Regions from separate parts of the Homo sapiens genome. Here region 2 is linked to region 1. Evidence: promoter capture Hi-C in 16 types of primary human blood cells and fetal thymus (Javierre and others, 2016). All regions are on one chromosome and are shown on one strand. Each heading gives the region's core, a stretch centred on a gene start or on the middle of the fragment in contact. The rest is flanking DNA. Distances are from core to core; before and after follow the strand shown. Region 1 holds the start of SGMS1 (sphingomyelin synthase 1). Region 2 overlaps SGMS1 (sphingomyelin synthase 1).

The links. Contacts are between HindIII fragments. The CHiCAGO score rates a contact against its expected background, and 5 or more counts as called.
Region 2: a contact is called between a fragment that was not itself captured here and the fragment with the promoter of SGMS1 in region 1, in 15 of 17 cell types (M0 macrophages, total B cells, erythroblasts and 12 more). The highest score is 15.8, in M0 macrophages.

Annotation. Positions count from the first base shown.
Region 1 is chr10:50,620,654-50,626,405 of GRCh38, forward strand. SGMS1 (sphingomyelin synthase 1) reads right to left here and starts at 3,303. Exons shown (of 11, transcript NM_147156.4): 1 at 3,054-3,303. SGMS1-AS1 (SGMS1 antisense RNA 1) reads left to right here and starts at 4,298. Exons shown (of 4, transcript NR_126411.1): 1 at 4,298-4,538. RefSeq lists enhancers at 1,351-1,510, 2,061-2,460, 3,172-3,700 and silencers at 2,651-2,990, 3,251-3,510, 3,559-3,716, 3,841-4,470. The HindIII fragment of the contact is 12,791 bases long and covers 1-5,752 here.
Region 2 is chr10:50,417,375-50,423,158 of GRCh38, forward strand. All of the region lies in intron 6 of SGMS1 (sphingomyelin synthase 1), which reads right to left. Among named protein-coding and RNA genes, the nearest start is that of ASAH2, 170 kb to the left of the region's middle. RefSeq lists a silencer at 787-1,066. The HindIII fragment of the contact is 1,294 bases long and covers 2,057-3,350 here.

The sequences.
Region 1 (5,752 bases), core at 2,053-4,552:
AACAGACAGTGATGGTAAAGAGCAGAATGAACTGGCAGCACACTCATGCCTCCCTCCTAAAGACCAGGGCATTGATGCCTGTGTGCAAACAATCCAGAATTTTTATTCCCAAAATACTCTTTCAGCTTTTCTATAGCAGCACTTTTCAGAGTTTTCCTGAAATGTTATGTATAAAATGAAGTTTTCTAAGTTAAAGCATTTGACATCCAACAGGAGCACTTTTTAGTTAAAAATAATAATAATAATACTGCTAGGTGCAGTGACTCACACCTGTAATCGCAGCACTTTGAGAGGCCAAGGTGAGAGGATTACTTGAGCCCAGGAGTTTGGGACCAGCCTGGGCAACATAACAAAACCCTATCTCTATAAAAAAGTAGCTGGGCTTAGTGGTGCGTGCGTGTAGTCCCAGCTACTCGGGAGGCTGAGGTAAGAGAATCCCCTGAGCCTGGAGAGTTCAAAGCTACAGTAAGCCGAGATTGTACCACTGCACTCCATCCTGGGTGACAGAATAAAACCCTGTCTCAAAAGAAAAACAAACAAAAAAAAACTGATGGCTATACTTAGGAGTCAGGAGTCCGTTTGGTTTTCATGACGTATGTTAACAAAGCACACCATTTCTCTAGCTGAAATGTAGGATCTGCCCCAAGTTTGAAAATTAATAAATTTAACCAGAAAAGTAAAAGAATCAAGTTTTCAAGCTAAAATTGAATGTTTATGGTCAACCCAGCAATCATGTCTTACGAAAACATAAATATTCTTTAAATGTCAATGTGCAAAGGTATTGATGCATATATTTTACTCTAACCATATTAATACAGACTTAAAAATAGATGATGAACATGGTAAATACTGGTAAACTCTTCTGTTATGAAGAATTTTTAAAATTTCAGCTGCAGAGGCATGTATTGAATACAAGTTAGACACTGTGCAAGATGCTAGAAATCTTCCAATGAGTAAGATACTGGTTTAATAACCGTGTCCCTCTGATGTCAATTTAATACATCTCTGGAGTTAATGTCTTTTATTAAAAAGTTTCCGGAAATTTCAAATAGCTCACTATCATCACTGAAGAGTTGCAGAAATGTATCTTATTATTTTACTAAAAACATAAATTTCTATTCTGTGAAGCAGAAATGGAAGGAAAGGCCACTTCACTGTTTTTACATATCACTGTCACTTTCTGCAGAGTAACTACTTAAAACTGCATGGCGGCAGCAGCCACCCCACTGCTACCCAGCAGGTCACAGAGATGCAGAGACTCAAAAACATGCTATATATTGCTGTATATTTTAAGAGGCGCAGTAAGGAAACTCGAAATACCAGGGCCTCCAGAGCTAAACAGGAAGCAAGATAAGACAAGTGAGCTGCCACAGGCAGAAGGCAGCACCTGGAGGTTCCCCCAAAGCTGGCGCCTCCGACAGCAGGCACAGGCTGCTGCTTGCTTGCTTGCTTGCTTCTTTGCTTGGCCACGGCATGTCTTCAGAGCTGGAAGGCTGCCACCTGCTGAATCACCAAACATCCCTGGGCTTCCCTTGGAGCACTGACCAGACAGGCACCCATCCCCCGCAGCCTTCGCCCGTGGACGTTTCACACCCCGACCAATGAAACGCCCCGCCCTCTCCCCTTCTGCACAGGCCAAAACAGCCGCCAACCCCTTTCCATCTGGGCAGCTCTAGGCAACACCCATCGCGTTCCTACGTCACCAGTCCCACTCCTCTCCTTCGGCCCACTCAGTCCCCCCTGAATGTTTCAACCCCCAGTGCCAGGAAGCGTGGGGAGTTCACAGCACAGCACATCAGACATTCGCCACTTCCACATCCAGGGAGCCAACTAGAAACATCCCCAAACCTAAAAGCAAAATAACCTGTCCAAACAGCTTTAAAGGTCCAGGAAGATAAATGTCAAGGGAGCTAAAATAGTCGACAGGCCCCAGAACATAGAAAATAAACTTCCCTTTCAGAAAGCAGCCTTCACTTGGTTTCGTAAGCGTGTACCGCTGAAGTCTGTACTGTTTGAAGGTGAAAAGAAACATCTGAGAAGCACCTGCCTGGATTCTCTTCGCTCCCTCCGGCCATGACAACCCTTATCCCGATTTCTACTTCGCGGCACCAAAGAGGAAAGCAGCATTCACCAGAACGCTCCAGGCTGAATCCGTTAGCTGGACTAGGGCACTCTATCCGGCCCACGGGAGGACGCCACAAGCCCGAGTTCGGGTTAAGACGGTGGGAGAGGCAGCCGCTGCTGCTGCTGTTTTGCCCTTGACACGTCGCTGGGGGATAGCGCAGACCCCCTCTGTCACGGAAAAGCGGCGTCCTGGAGAGACTGTCCAGTTCTGGGCTGCGCCGATTCCCCTCCAGGCCTTGCCCCTAAACGTCCCCGCCCCGCGGGGGCAGCCCTGCGGGGTCTCAGAGCCGCCCGCGAGCCTGGCGGGCTGTTACGCGGCCTGGAGAGAAGGGGAGCGCTCCTCGGGGAGGGGGGGTCCCACCTGTTTTGTCGTCAGGGGGCATCGAGGGGCTACGGTGGGGGGATCCCGAAATAGTGGGCGCCTGGCCGGCTGCGATCTGGACCGAAGGTACCAACTGTCACACCGCCACCTAGGCTGTGGGGGTGGAGCCGTGATTGGAGTCGGCCCCTGGGTGGGGGTCTCCGGACCCCGGGCGGGCTACTGCCCAAAGGCTCCCCGCCTCCCGATCGCCCCAATCCGACACCAGGCAGCCTTCCAGCCCGCACGCAGTAGCTCTGAAAAGGTGCCCACTGACGCCTCCTCCTTCCTCCCCGCCCCAACTTAGCCGGGGAGCCCCGCCGGCGGCCCGCCCCCTCCGAGCCCGGATCCCGGCCGCCGGACCTCCCCGCTGTGACCACCCACGGGAGCAGCAGCTCTGGAGGACTGCCCGCCAGGTACGCGCGCGGCACCGCGCGGGCTGCGCTCACGCCCCCTCGCCCCAGAGCAGCCCGCCCGCTGCTCCCCGGCATAAGGCCGGGCCCGCGAGACAGGTGTCCGATCGGCCCCCGCAACCGTGAGGCCGGCTGTCTGTCCCTGCCCCACGACTCACTTGCACTGGAGTCACGGCAGCCGCCGGAATTCCGCTCGCGGAGCCCCCGCCGCGGAATGAAATCCGGGGCAGGGCAGCGTCGGGGCTCCGCACCCCAATCGCGCTCTCCGACCGGCTCCCTAGGCGCGAGGGGAGAGCAGTCAGCCCAGGCCGGTCCTTCTCACTCCCGACCTGCCCGCCGCCTGCCGCCCGCAGCCGCTGCCCCGCTGGTGCGAACGCTTTCGACTTGCCACCGCGAGCCTCCCGGGCTGCCGAGCATGCCCAGTCCGCTGCCCGAGCCGGCCCGGCTTCCCGCGCGACGCGACTCCGCTCCTCCGGGTGTTCACTGCGGCCGGGGGGGCGGGCCGGCCGGGCGGGGTCCGCGGGGGGCTCCTCCCGGGACCGAGCGGGACCCCGAACCAAGGGACAGTCGCAGTTTGGGCCCCTTGAATTTTACTTTCAAGTAATGGGAAACTGAGGAGGCGGGCGCTTTCCCCAGCGTTTTTAGGGGCCCACTAAGTAAGGCCTAGCGGGAGCCAGATTTTACAATCTGGGACGGTAAATCCCTTGGGGCAGGGCCGGAGACGGGAGCCGCTAGAGCTGGTCACAAAGCAGGGAACGCAAACTCAGCCTGCTGGAAGCCAGGCACGAGTTTGCGAACTACTACTGGATTCTTTTTCCCACCAAGCCCAAGGGCTGCGACACTTGGGATTAATGCCCAATGGATCATTCCTAGGAAACGGCCGACCTGACTATTCGGCCCATTTTCAAACCTCTAACCATAGACTCTCATCTTTCTCCCACAACAGAAAAAAAAAGCCTCTGGCGACGCCTGGGAGCGCGACGGAGGCGCAAGAGCTCTAACCGCGCGAGGTGAAAACTCCGACTGCGTCAGAGCCGCCCCGCCCCGCCTGGGGCCCACCTTCCGCCGCCCCTCCGAGCTGCGGCGAAAACCCGGAGAGCGGCTAGGCCGGGGTCGGAGCCCGCGCATGCCCAGTAGCCCCACGTGGTGCAAGTCGCCTGAAGGAAGGTTTTCCTCTGCTCCCCGAGCGAAGCCCCAGCGCCCAAGTTAGGATGGACAGCGGGGAGAGCTGGCCTTCCCGCCCCGATGCCCGCCGTCCCTGGCCGGCCCGCGCCGCACCTCGGTGGCCTACAGGCAGCCCGAGGCCGTGCCTCCCGCGGGGTCGGGGACTTGGCGAGCGGGGGAAGGGGCGCGGCTACGGGCCCGGCGTACCACGTGACTGTCCGCGGCGCTCCGGGCAGCCATCTTCCGCCCGGCCATCGGGCCGCGGGCGCTCGGAACCGACCTGGGAGCTGGCGGGACCGTCCTCCCCCGCCACGCCCTCCCATCGGGCTTTGGGCGCCGGACTCTGGCCACCGCTCGGCACCTGCCTCCGCCTCGCCTTGGGGTATAGGAGTCCTGTACCGACCCCTGGCTTGCCCAGAGGACAGGTTCTCGCCCGGGCCAGAAGCAAACTGCGGCGAAATCGAGACAACAGAACTCAGGTGGCGGAGGGTCCCCGCTTTTCCCCAGAGGCGGAAGTTGGCGAGGGAGTCCTCTTCCGTTATCCAGCGAGAGCGCTGCTCTGGCTGCCTCCCGGTTCTAACCTAGTCCCTGCAGAGGAGTGATGTACCGGCAGGGACATTGGACAGAGGCCGTGCTCTTCCCTGCAGCGCATACCCCGCGGCCCCTGCTGGTGGGCCGCTTCGATGGTGCTGAGGTTCATAGTGAATATTTATTGAGCGCCTGCCTCGAGTCCCTTGGGTTTCCTGTTGTCTCGGGACCTGCCGCGTCACTATCACCCTAGAATTTGTTAGAAATGCACGTTTTCGGCCCCACCTAGACCTACAGAACCAGAAACTGCGGGTGGAGTCCTGCAATATGATTAACAAAGCCCTCCGGGTAGTTGTCATGGACGCCTCTATATTTCAGCTAAGCAGTCCATTTTAATAAGCTAGGCAGTGAAAATTTCCATAGTTTTCCCCAAAGCACAGTGAGGAGTCAGGGATTCAAAATGAGGCAATCTGCCCCAATGCAGGCGTTTTATTGCACCCTCCACTCCTGGCTCCTCTGGTTTTTTCGCCCGTAAGACACAGTACTGCTCTTCTCAGGAAGATTAGGAAAGTACATTTGTCACATACGCTTTTCAAGCACGGCTTTAAAATAACAACTGAAATTCAGTTCAACTGCATGTTTTGAGTATCTACTGGGAGCAAGGCTCTGTGAAGTATAGTAGCCCTACTGGTTATGTTTATCAGTTTGCACCTAAAAGGTGAAAGGAAGGCTTGCTTTCTTGTGATGTAAATTTTTTCAAACTAAGGGAGTGCCAGAAAACTGCTGGCTGCTTTCTCTCCCGTGTTGGTTTCTCTCCAGTGCTATCCAGAATATGCTGTAAGCTCTGGACTTCCTGAAACAAAGGTCCAAGTAAGCATCTGGTCTTTGATGTACTTTAAAATGCACCCCACCCCCACATGAAAGATAACTAAATTTTTCAAAATATTAATACTTCTTGAATGTAAATCGTGTGTCTAAGGTACTGGCATAATTTTTTTTTTCAAATTTTCTATATGTTTGAAATGTTTCATAATAAAATCCTTTTAAATTTTTTTCCATGTGTAATTTTAGGATGATATATATATAGCACATGGAAAAAAGCAGGGCATAGAAGTATTTCCACTTTAATTTCAGTTTCATAAAATCAGAGAGAAAAAGTCATAGA
Region 2 (5,784 bases), core at 1,454-3,953, 200 kb before region 1:
AGATTTCCTATTTTGGTATAACTACACAAAACAAACACAAAAATAAAATAAAATAAAATAAAATAAAATAAAATAAATGTCATGCATTCTTCTCCATGTATTTATTGACAAATTCCACAAGAGCGATTACCTGGCCACACTAAATAGAAAGCACAGTTATGGAGTAAACACACTCAGTCCAAAACACAGGGGCACGTGCATCCTTGTGGCACTTAGTACCAAGCTCATTCACAAGCCAGCTTCCAACCAACCAAAGGAGTTGCCAAAAGGGCTGTTTCGTACAGGGACTGGAGTTTGAGAAAGTGAGTACTTCCCCAAAACTTAATAACCAATCTGTAGACACAATCCCGTTCTCTCAAAAACTGCCATTAGGAAGACTTGATAACCCCAAACAGAAACCACCCCCTACCCTTGGTTCTCATGCCACGGCAGTTAGCATCACGCAATATAAAGAGCATTTGTTGACTGATCCTACCCATATCCTGACCCACTGCTTCAGCAACTGCACTGAACCTTCTCAGGTGTAAATAGCTAGTGCCTATTTGATCATTAAAGCAGGATGCAGGAAAAATAAAGATTTCCCTTTACTTCGCCGTAGTAGAATTGGCACTGATTGCGGTATTTTAATCGGTTCACACCGTCTGTTAGTGTATTCTAATGAACCACAGCATCTCCGGAGCAACACTTACGGTCTCTCGTCCCCGGAGGCAGTGTCTCCTGGAAAGTTCCTGGGGCACCAAGTTTGCGCGCGGCTCCTCGCGCTCAGGGTGCGCGCAGCCAGCCCTGGCGCGGGCGGAAAGGCGAGCGCGCTGAGCGGCGCGCAGACCCCGGGCGCGGCTCTTGCTGGGCGCCCGCGCCTTGATCGGTCCCGGCGGTCCCGTTCCCCTGCTTGCCGGGCCCTGGTGCTAGGACAGCGGCGCTGCGGAGCCCGGCGTCTGGAGCTGGCGGGCGGCCGGATGCGCCGATCCTCTCCCGGGGGGTCAACTGCGAGCTAGACGCCCAGCCGGACCTCAGAGGCTCCAAGAGCGGGGTTGGCGGGTGTGGCCCGGCAGCAGAGGGTTTTTGGAATGCAGGGTGTGGCCCTCTACCACGGCAAAAAAGAAATGAGTCAGCCCGTTCAGTCCTAACCAATAAGCATGTTCAGTGTCGGTTAAGGCGGAACTTTCCTTTCTTGATTTATACCAAGCTTAGAAGCCTTTCACAGCCTTTTCTTTACGCCTTTGACAACTTCGACACAACTTCTAGAAAAGGGTAGGTTGCCTTTGAAAACGCTTGGGAAACAAGGATTAATCTTACGAAAGATACTTCAGTGGATGTACATTAGTTTCGATTAGTAAAAGTTTTTGAGTTAGGCAGAGATACTGGGTGCAAAGAGGTGGGACCTGGTATCAAAGCAGATTTGGATCAGACCTCTGACACTGTGTGGCCTTGAGTAAGTTAATTATCATCAATGAGGGGGCTAAAATGCCCACCTAACAGTTTACAGATTACAACAGTCCCCCCATATGCAGTTTCTCTTTCTGCTGTGTCCGTTACCCCGCCCCTTCAGTTGCAGTCTGAAAATATTAAATGGAAAATTCTAGAAATAAGCAATGCATAAATTTTAAATTTCATGTCATTCTGAGATTGTTAAAATTGTTATATTTTATTATTAGTTACTGTTAATCTCTTACTGTGCCTAATTTATAAGTTAAACTTCACCATAGGTATGTATAGGAAAAATCATAGTATATATAGGGTTCAGGACCATCGAGATTTCAGGCATCCACTGGGGGCTTTGGAACATACATACCATCTGAAGATAAGGGGGGAACTACTGATTATGTAACAATGCATGCAAAGCATTTACCACAGTGCTGGACAAAGAGTAGGCACTCAAAAAATGCTGTCTTGTCCCTCTGAGTCCTGAATCCGAATCTCCAAAATTGTAAACAAACTGGCTCGTAATTTTCAAAAATTCTTTCCTATGTTAAATATCTAAAGAATTTTAGAGCTGAAATAGTTCTCTGGTATTCCCTGGTCTGAGTCCCTCATTTAAGTGGTGAGAAACTTAAGAAGCTTTAGGTTCAGGATTCTTGAATTTGGTATTCTTACTATACAATAGAAAGTTTATTGGTAGCAAATAGGCTTAAAATTGGAATGATTTCATTTAGGTCACAGGTGAACCTACTTTTAAAAAAGTAAGAGTGATTTGTGGAAATATTCCATCTGAGTCACTGTGCCCTAAACATTATTTTGTAATAAAAATACTTAAAAGAAACTTTATTTGGGAATTGGCAAATTACAGGGGGCTGCAGAAGTGCTAATTCCTGAGGTCCCATTAAGAAATGAGTTGATTGCTATTGCCAAAAGAGAATTTCTAGATGGGAAGAAAAAAATGTTAAGTTACAAATTAAACGTTCTTTGCTTTGGAGATCTCCTGAGCAAAGATCTCTTTGGAGATCTTTCTCATACATGTTTAGAGTCATTCCACAGGCCAAGGTTTCTTGAAAATACTCATTAGCCAAAGATAAGATCTAAAGTGAGATCAGCAAAATGCTGTTCTTTTCTCCAAAGCAGCACGGGAGAGTGGAAAGAACACTGCACAAAAAGCCAAGAGCTCCCTTCCTAGTCTCAGCTCTGCCAGTAAGTGACAGGGTGAACTGACTGCTTCATCTCTCTCTGAGGATCTCTAAGAGTGTTTCCAGTTGGAAACCAAACTATGGTCAAAAGAGCAGAAGCAAGATCGGCCTATAGCCTCACATTTATCCTTAGCAACAGGTACTTAAGTTGGGCCTGTCTCCTAGATGATGAAGCTGTCAAATCTCTCTTGACTCTCATATTCCTCATAAAGGTAATGTTACTCTCCTAGACACTTCAAGTTAAATTCTGGAATCATCTGAGCTCCCTCTTTTCTCTCTTAATGGTTCACTACCAATAGGCGTAACATGAAGGCTTCTTTCATATCTGGACCATTTTTTCCATTCCTGGTTCAGGCATTCGTCCCCTCTGCCTGAGTCACTGAGGTTGAGTGTCTTCTAGCCGCTGTTCCAGCAGGCGGGCCCCTCCCTCTATGCCTCTCAACACATCATCATCATCATCACATGACAAATGTCAAAGTCGAGCATGCCATCATGTCATAAACCTTTTCCTCTCAGTCAATTAAATAATTTTATAGTAGAGATCAAAAGGAACACAATTTGCTTTACGGGCAGCTTTCCTCAAACATTCATGTAAATTAATGTGTATTTTTAAGAGCACTGATATTTTATATTTATGTAATTGTTACAATGAGCTATACTGGCTGAACTGATAATATGTTGGCTATTATATCAAGGACAGCAGCTCTTTTACATGAGAAGACTACATAAAGCTTAAGTGTATATGAACAACTCCATAAACTTAACACTGCAGTCTAAAAAATACAATTGTGTTTGTGTGTGTGTGGACACAGAGAGATACTTTGAGATCTATGATGGAGAAAGGGAAAGGCAGCACAGACAGGAAAGAGAGATGATCTAGTTTGTTAGTATTGTTTAGGATCCAGCCAAGCTTAACATTCAGAGTAGGTGTTCTCTCCAGGAAGAAGGAAGGCTTCATAAATATGTTTGGCTGCAATCATAACTCAAAGCACTTGAAAGATGTTTCCAATAATCCTTATGCTTCAGAAATAAGAACAACACAATGACCAATGTGGTTAGAACATTCCCACAAGAGAACAGGATAACTGGTTCTAGGATGCCTTTGTTGTCTAAAATTAAAATTTAAAGTACACGGATTCTCAACATATAGTTATCAAAAAAAAGTGACGGTGAAACTACGGGTCCAGTGCCATGACATTTATAGGCACTCAAAGCCTTGCCTCTACCTCTGCAACCCCGATCTTAAAAACCCTCTGCCAAATAACCCGCTGGTCCACTCCTTGTTCCCCTAAAGCTGAGGGCACATTACTACCACCATACCTAGGGATAGTGAGTGCTTACCATTTTATGTTGCCTTGACATCCACTTTAAATATAGGTTTAACTTTCTCAGAATCAGGGCTCAGTCACCCTTGACAGTTTCAAATTCCATTCCCCACCTGAATGGCTCCCACTGGTGGCAGGAAATAAAACTGAAGAGACCCAAGTCCTGCCTAGCAGGCTGGGCTCCTCACTTTCCCACCACTTCCTTAAACAGACCGTTCAGACATTTGCTTGCAAATTTAAACTGACCACCTCTCAGTCACAACAGGACCTCCTGGAACTAGCACCTGCTTGCTTTAAACCTACCAATTAAAGCTCCCCTTAGGAAACATATTTGGATAACACACTGGACCCTAATAAGATGGTGGCCCATGGGTCTCTTTATCTCTGCCTGTGCTCCCTGGCCTATGTAGTGGAGACGGTGGGGGCCTCCGAGTGTGCCATGTACACTCGAGGGTCTAAAAATTCTTAACTTTCACATTGTAGTTGGGAGCCATGCTCATCCCTGGTGGAGAGGCTGCCCCAAAGGGACCCATGCAGGTGGCTCCCATGTTGGTGCTCTTTAGTCCAGGCCTCTCAGCTGCTGGGTGGTTACCAGCTAAGGTGACAGAGTTTCATTCAAAGCACTAGGCTCACACCATGCCCCCTGCCTGACAACCTTCTTGCATTCTTTTTAGTACATATCCCATTCCAGACCACTGAAACCCTTTCTTCTCCTAGAACTTTTGTCACTGGCAAAAGCCCTGGGGAATCTCTCCTCTCCTCCAAATACCTACAGATCTTATTCTTTATACTTCCATTTCACAACTAACATAGGATCTTAGCATCCTTCCTTCTTTTTGAGATCCCTGACCTTTCACTCTCAGCAGACAGTGGAAATCCATCTGAGGTAGACGTGTTTCCGAGCATCTGTATCCCCCAGGGCCTAGCAGATTCTGCATAAATAGTCATTGTTGTGAATATAATGATGCTTAAGTTATATAACAGCCACAAAGGAGAAAAGAAAACGTTCCCTTTGACTGCTGACACATCAAGAATAAACAAATATTATAGCTGTTCAAACCAGTTGGCAAGCAGAACCCAAGCAGCAGATGCGTTTCTGTGCTCTTTGTGGCATGTTCCAACAATACAGAATGCTACTGAGACAGCAAATCTGATACTTCCTAAAAGGAAGTGGAGTTTACAAAACAGAGTTTTCATGTAAAATCCCAGTTCCCCAAACACGAATCCACTGTGGAGAACAGAAGCAACAAGTCATTCGATCTTCCCTTTCAAGTAAGGAACACATAGATACATATTTGATAATCTTGCCAAAGTACCAATTCCTCCTTAAATGTAAACATCACTCTCAACCACAAACATCTATTTACCAACAGGTGCTCCTAACCATAATGGTAGCAAAGGACAGTTCTTCAAGACAATTCATAAATCCTAGAACTGTCATAGGTATACATTTATTATATGGCATTTGCATTATATGACATCATAGGTATATAAAAGTTTTACATTTGCATTAGAGCAAGCCTCTGTCAAAAGAGCCGTTACCACCCGCACACACATTCATTCACTGGTATCCTTTGATTAGCATTAGCATATTTCTGCTTTGATGACAGATGGGGAAAAAAACACTACCACTGTTCTCAAAAGGCTGTGTCTGTCCTGCTATGCAACTAAATACTTTATTAAAATTGCCCATGACAAAAGCACTGACTTTCTAAATAACTACTCCAAGTATAAACAAGCAAATGAATTAGTCAGCAGTGTTTAACTTGCAGGTAACAAAAATGGCACTTGAGGCATCACAGGCAAAAGCAAGGTGAGCCACATTGGCTCTAAATATC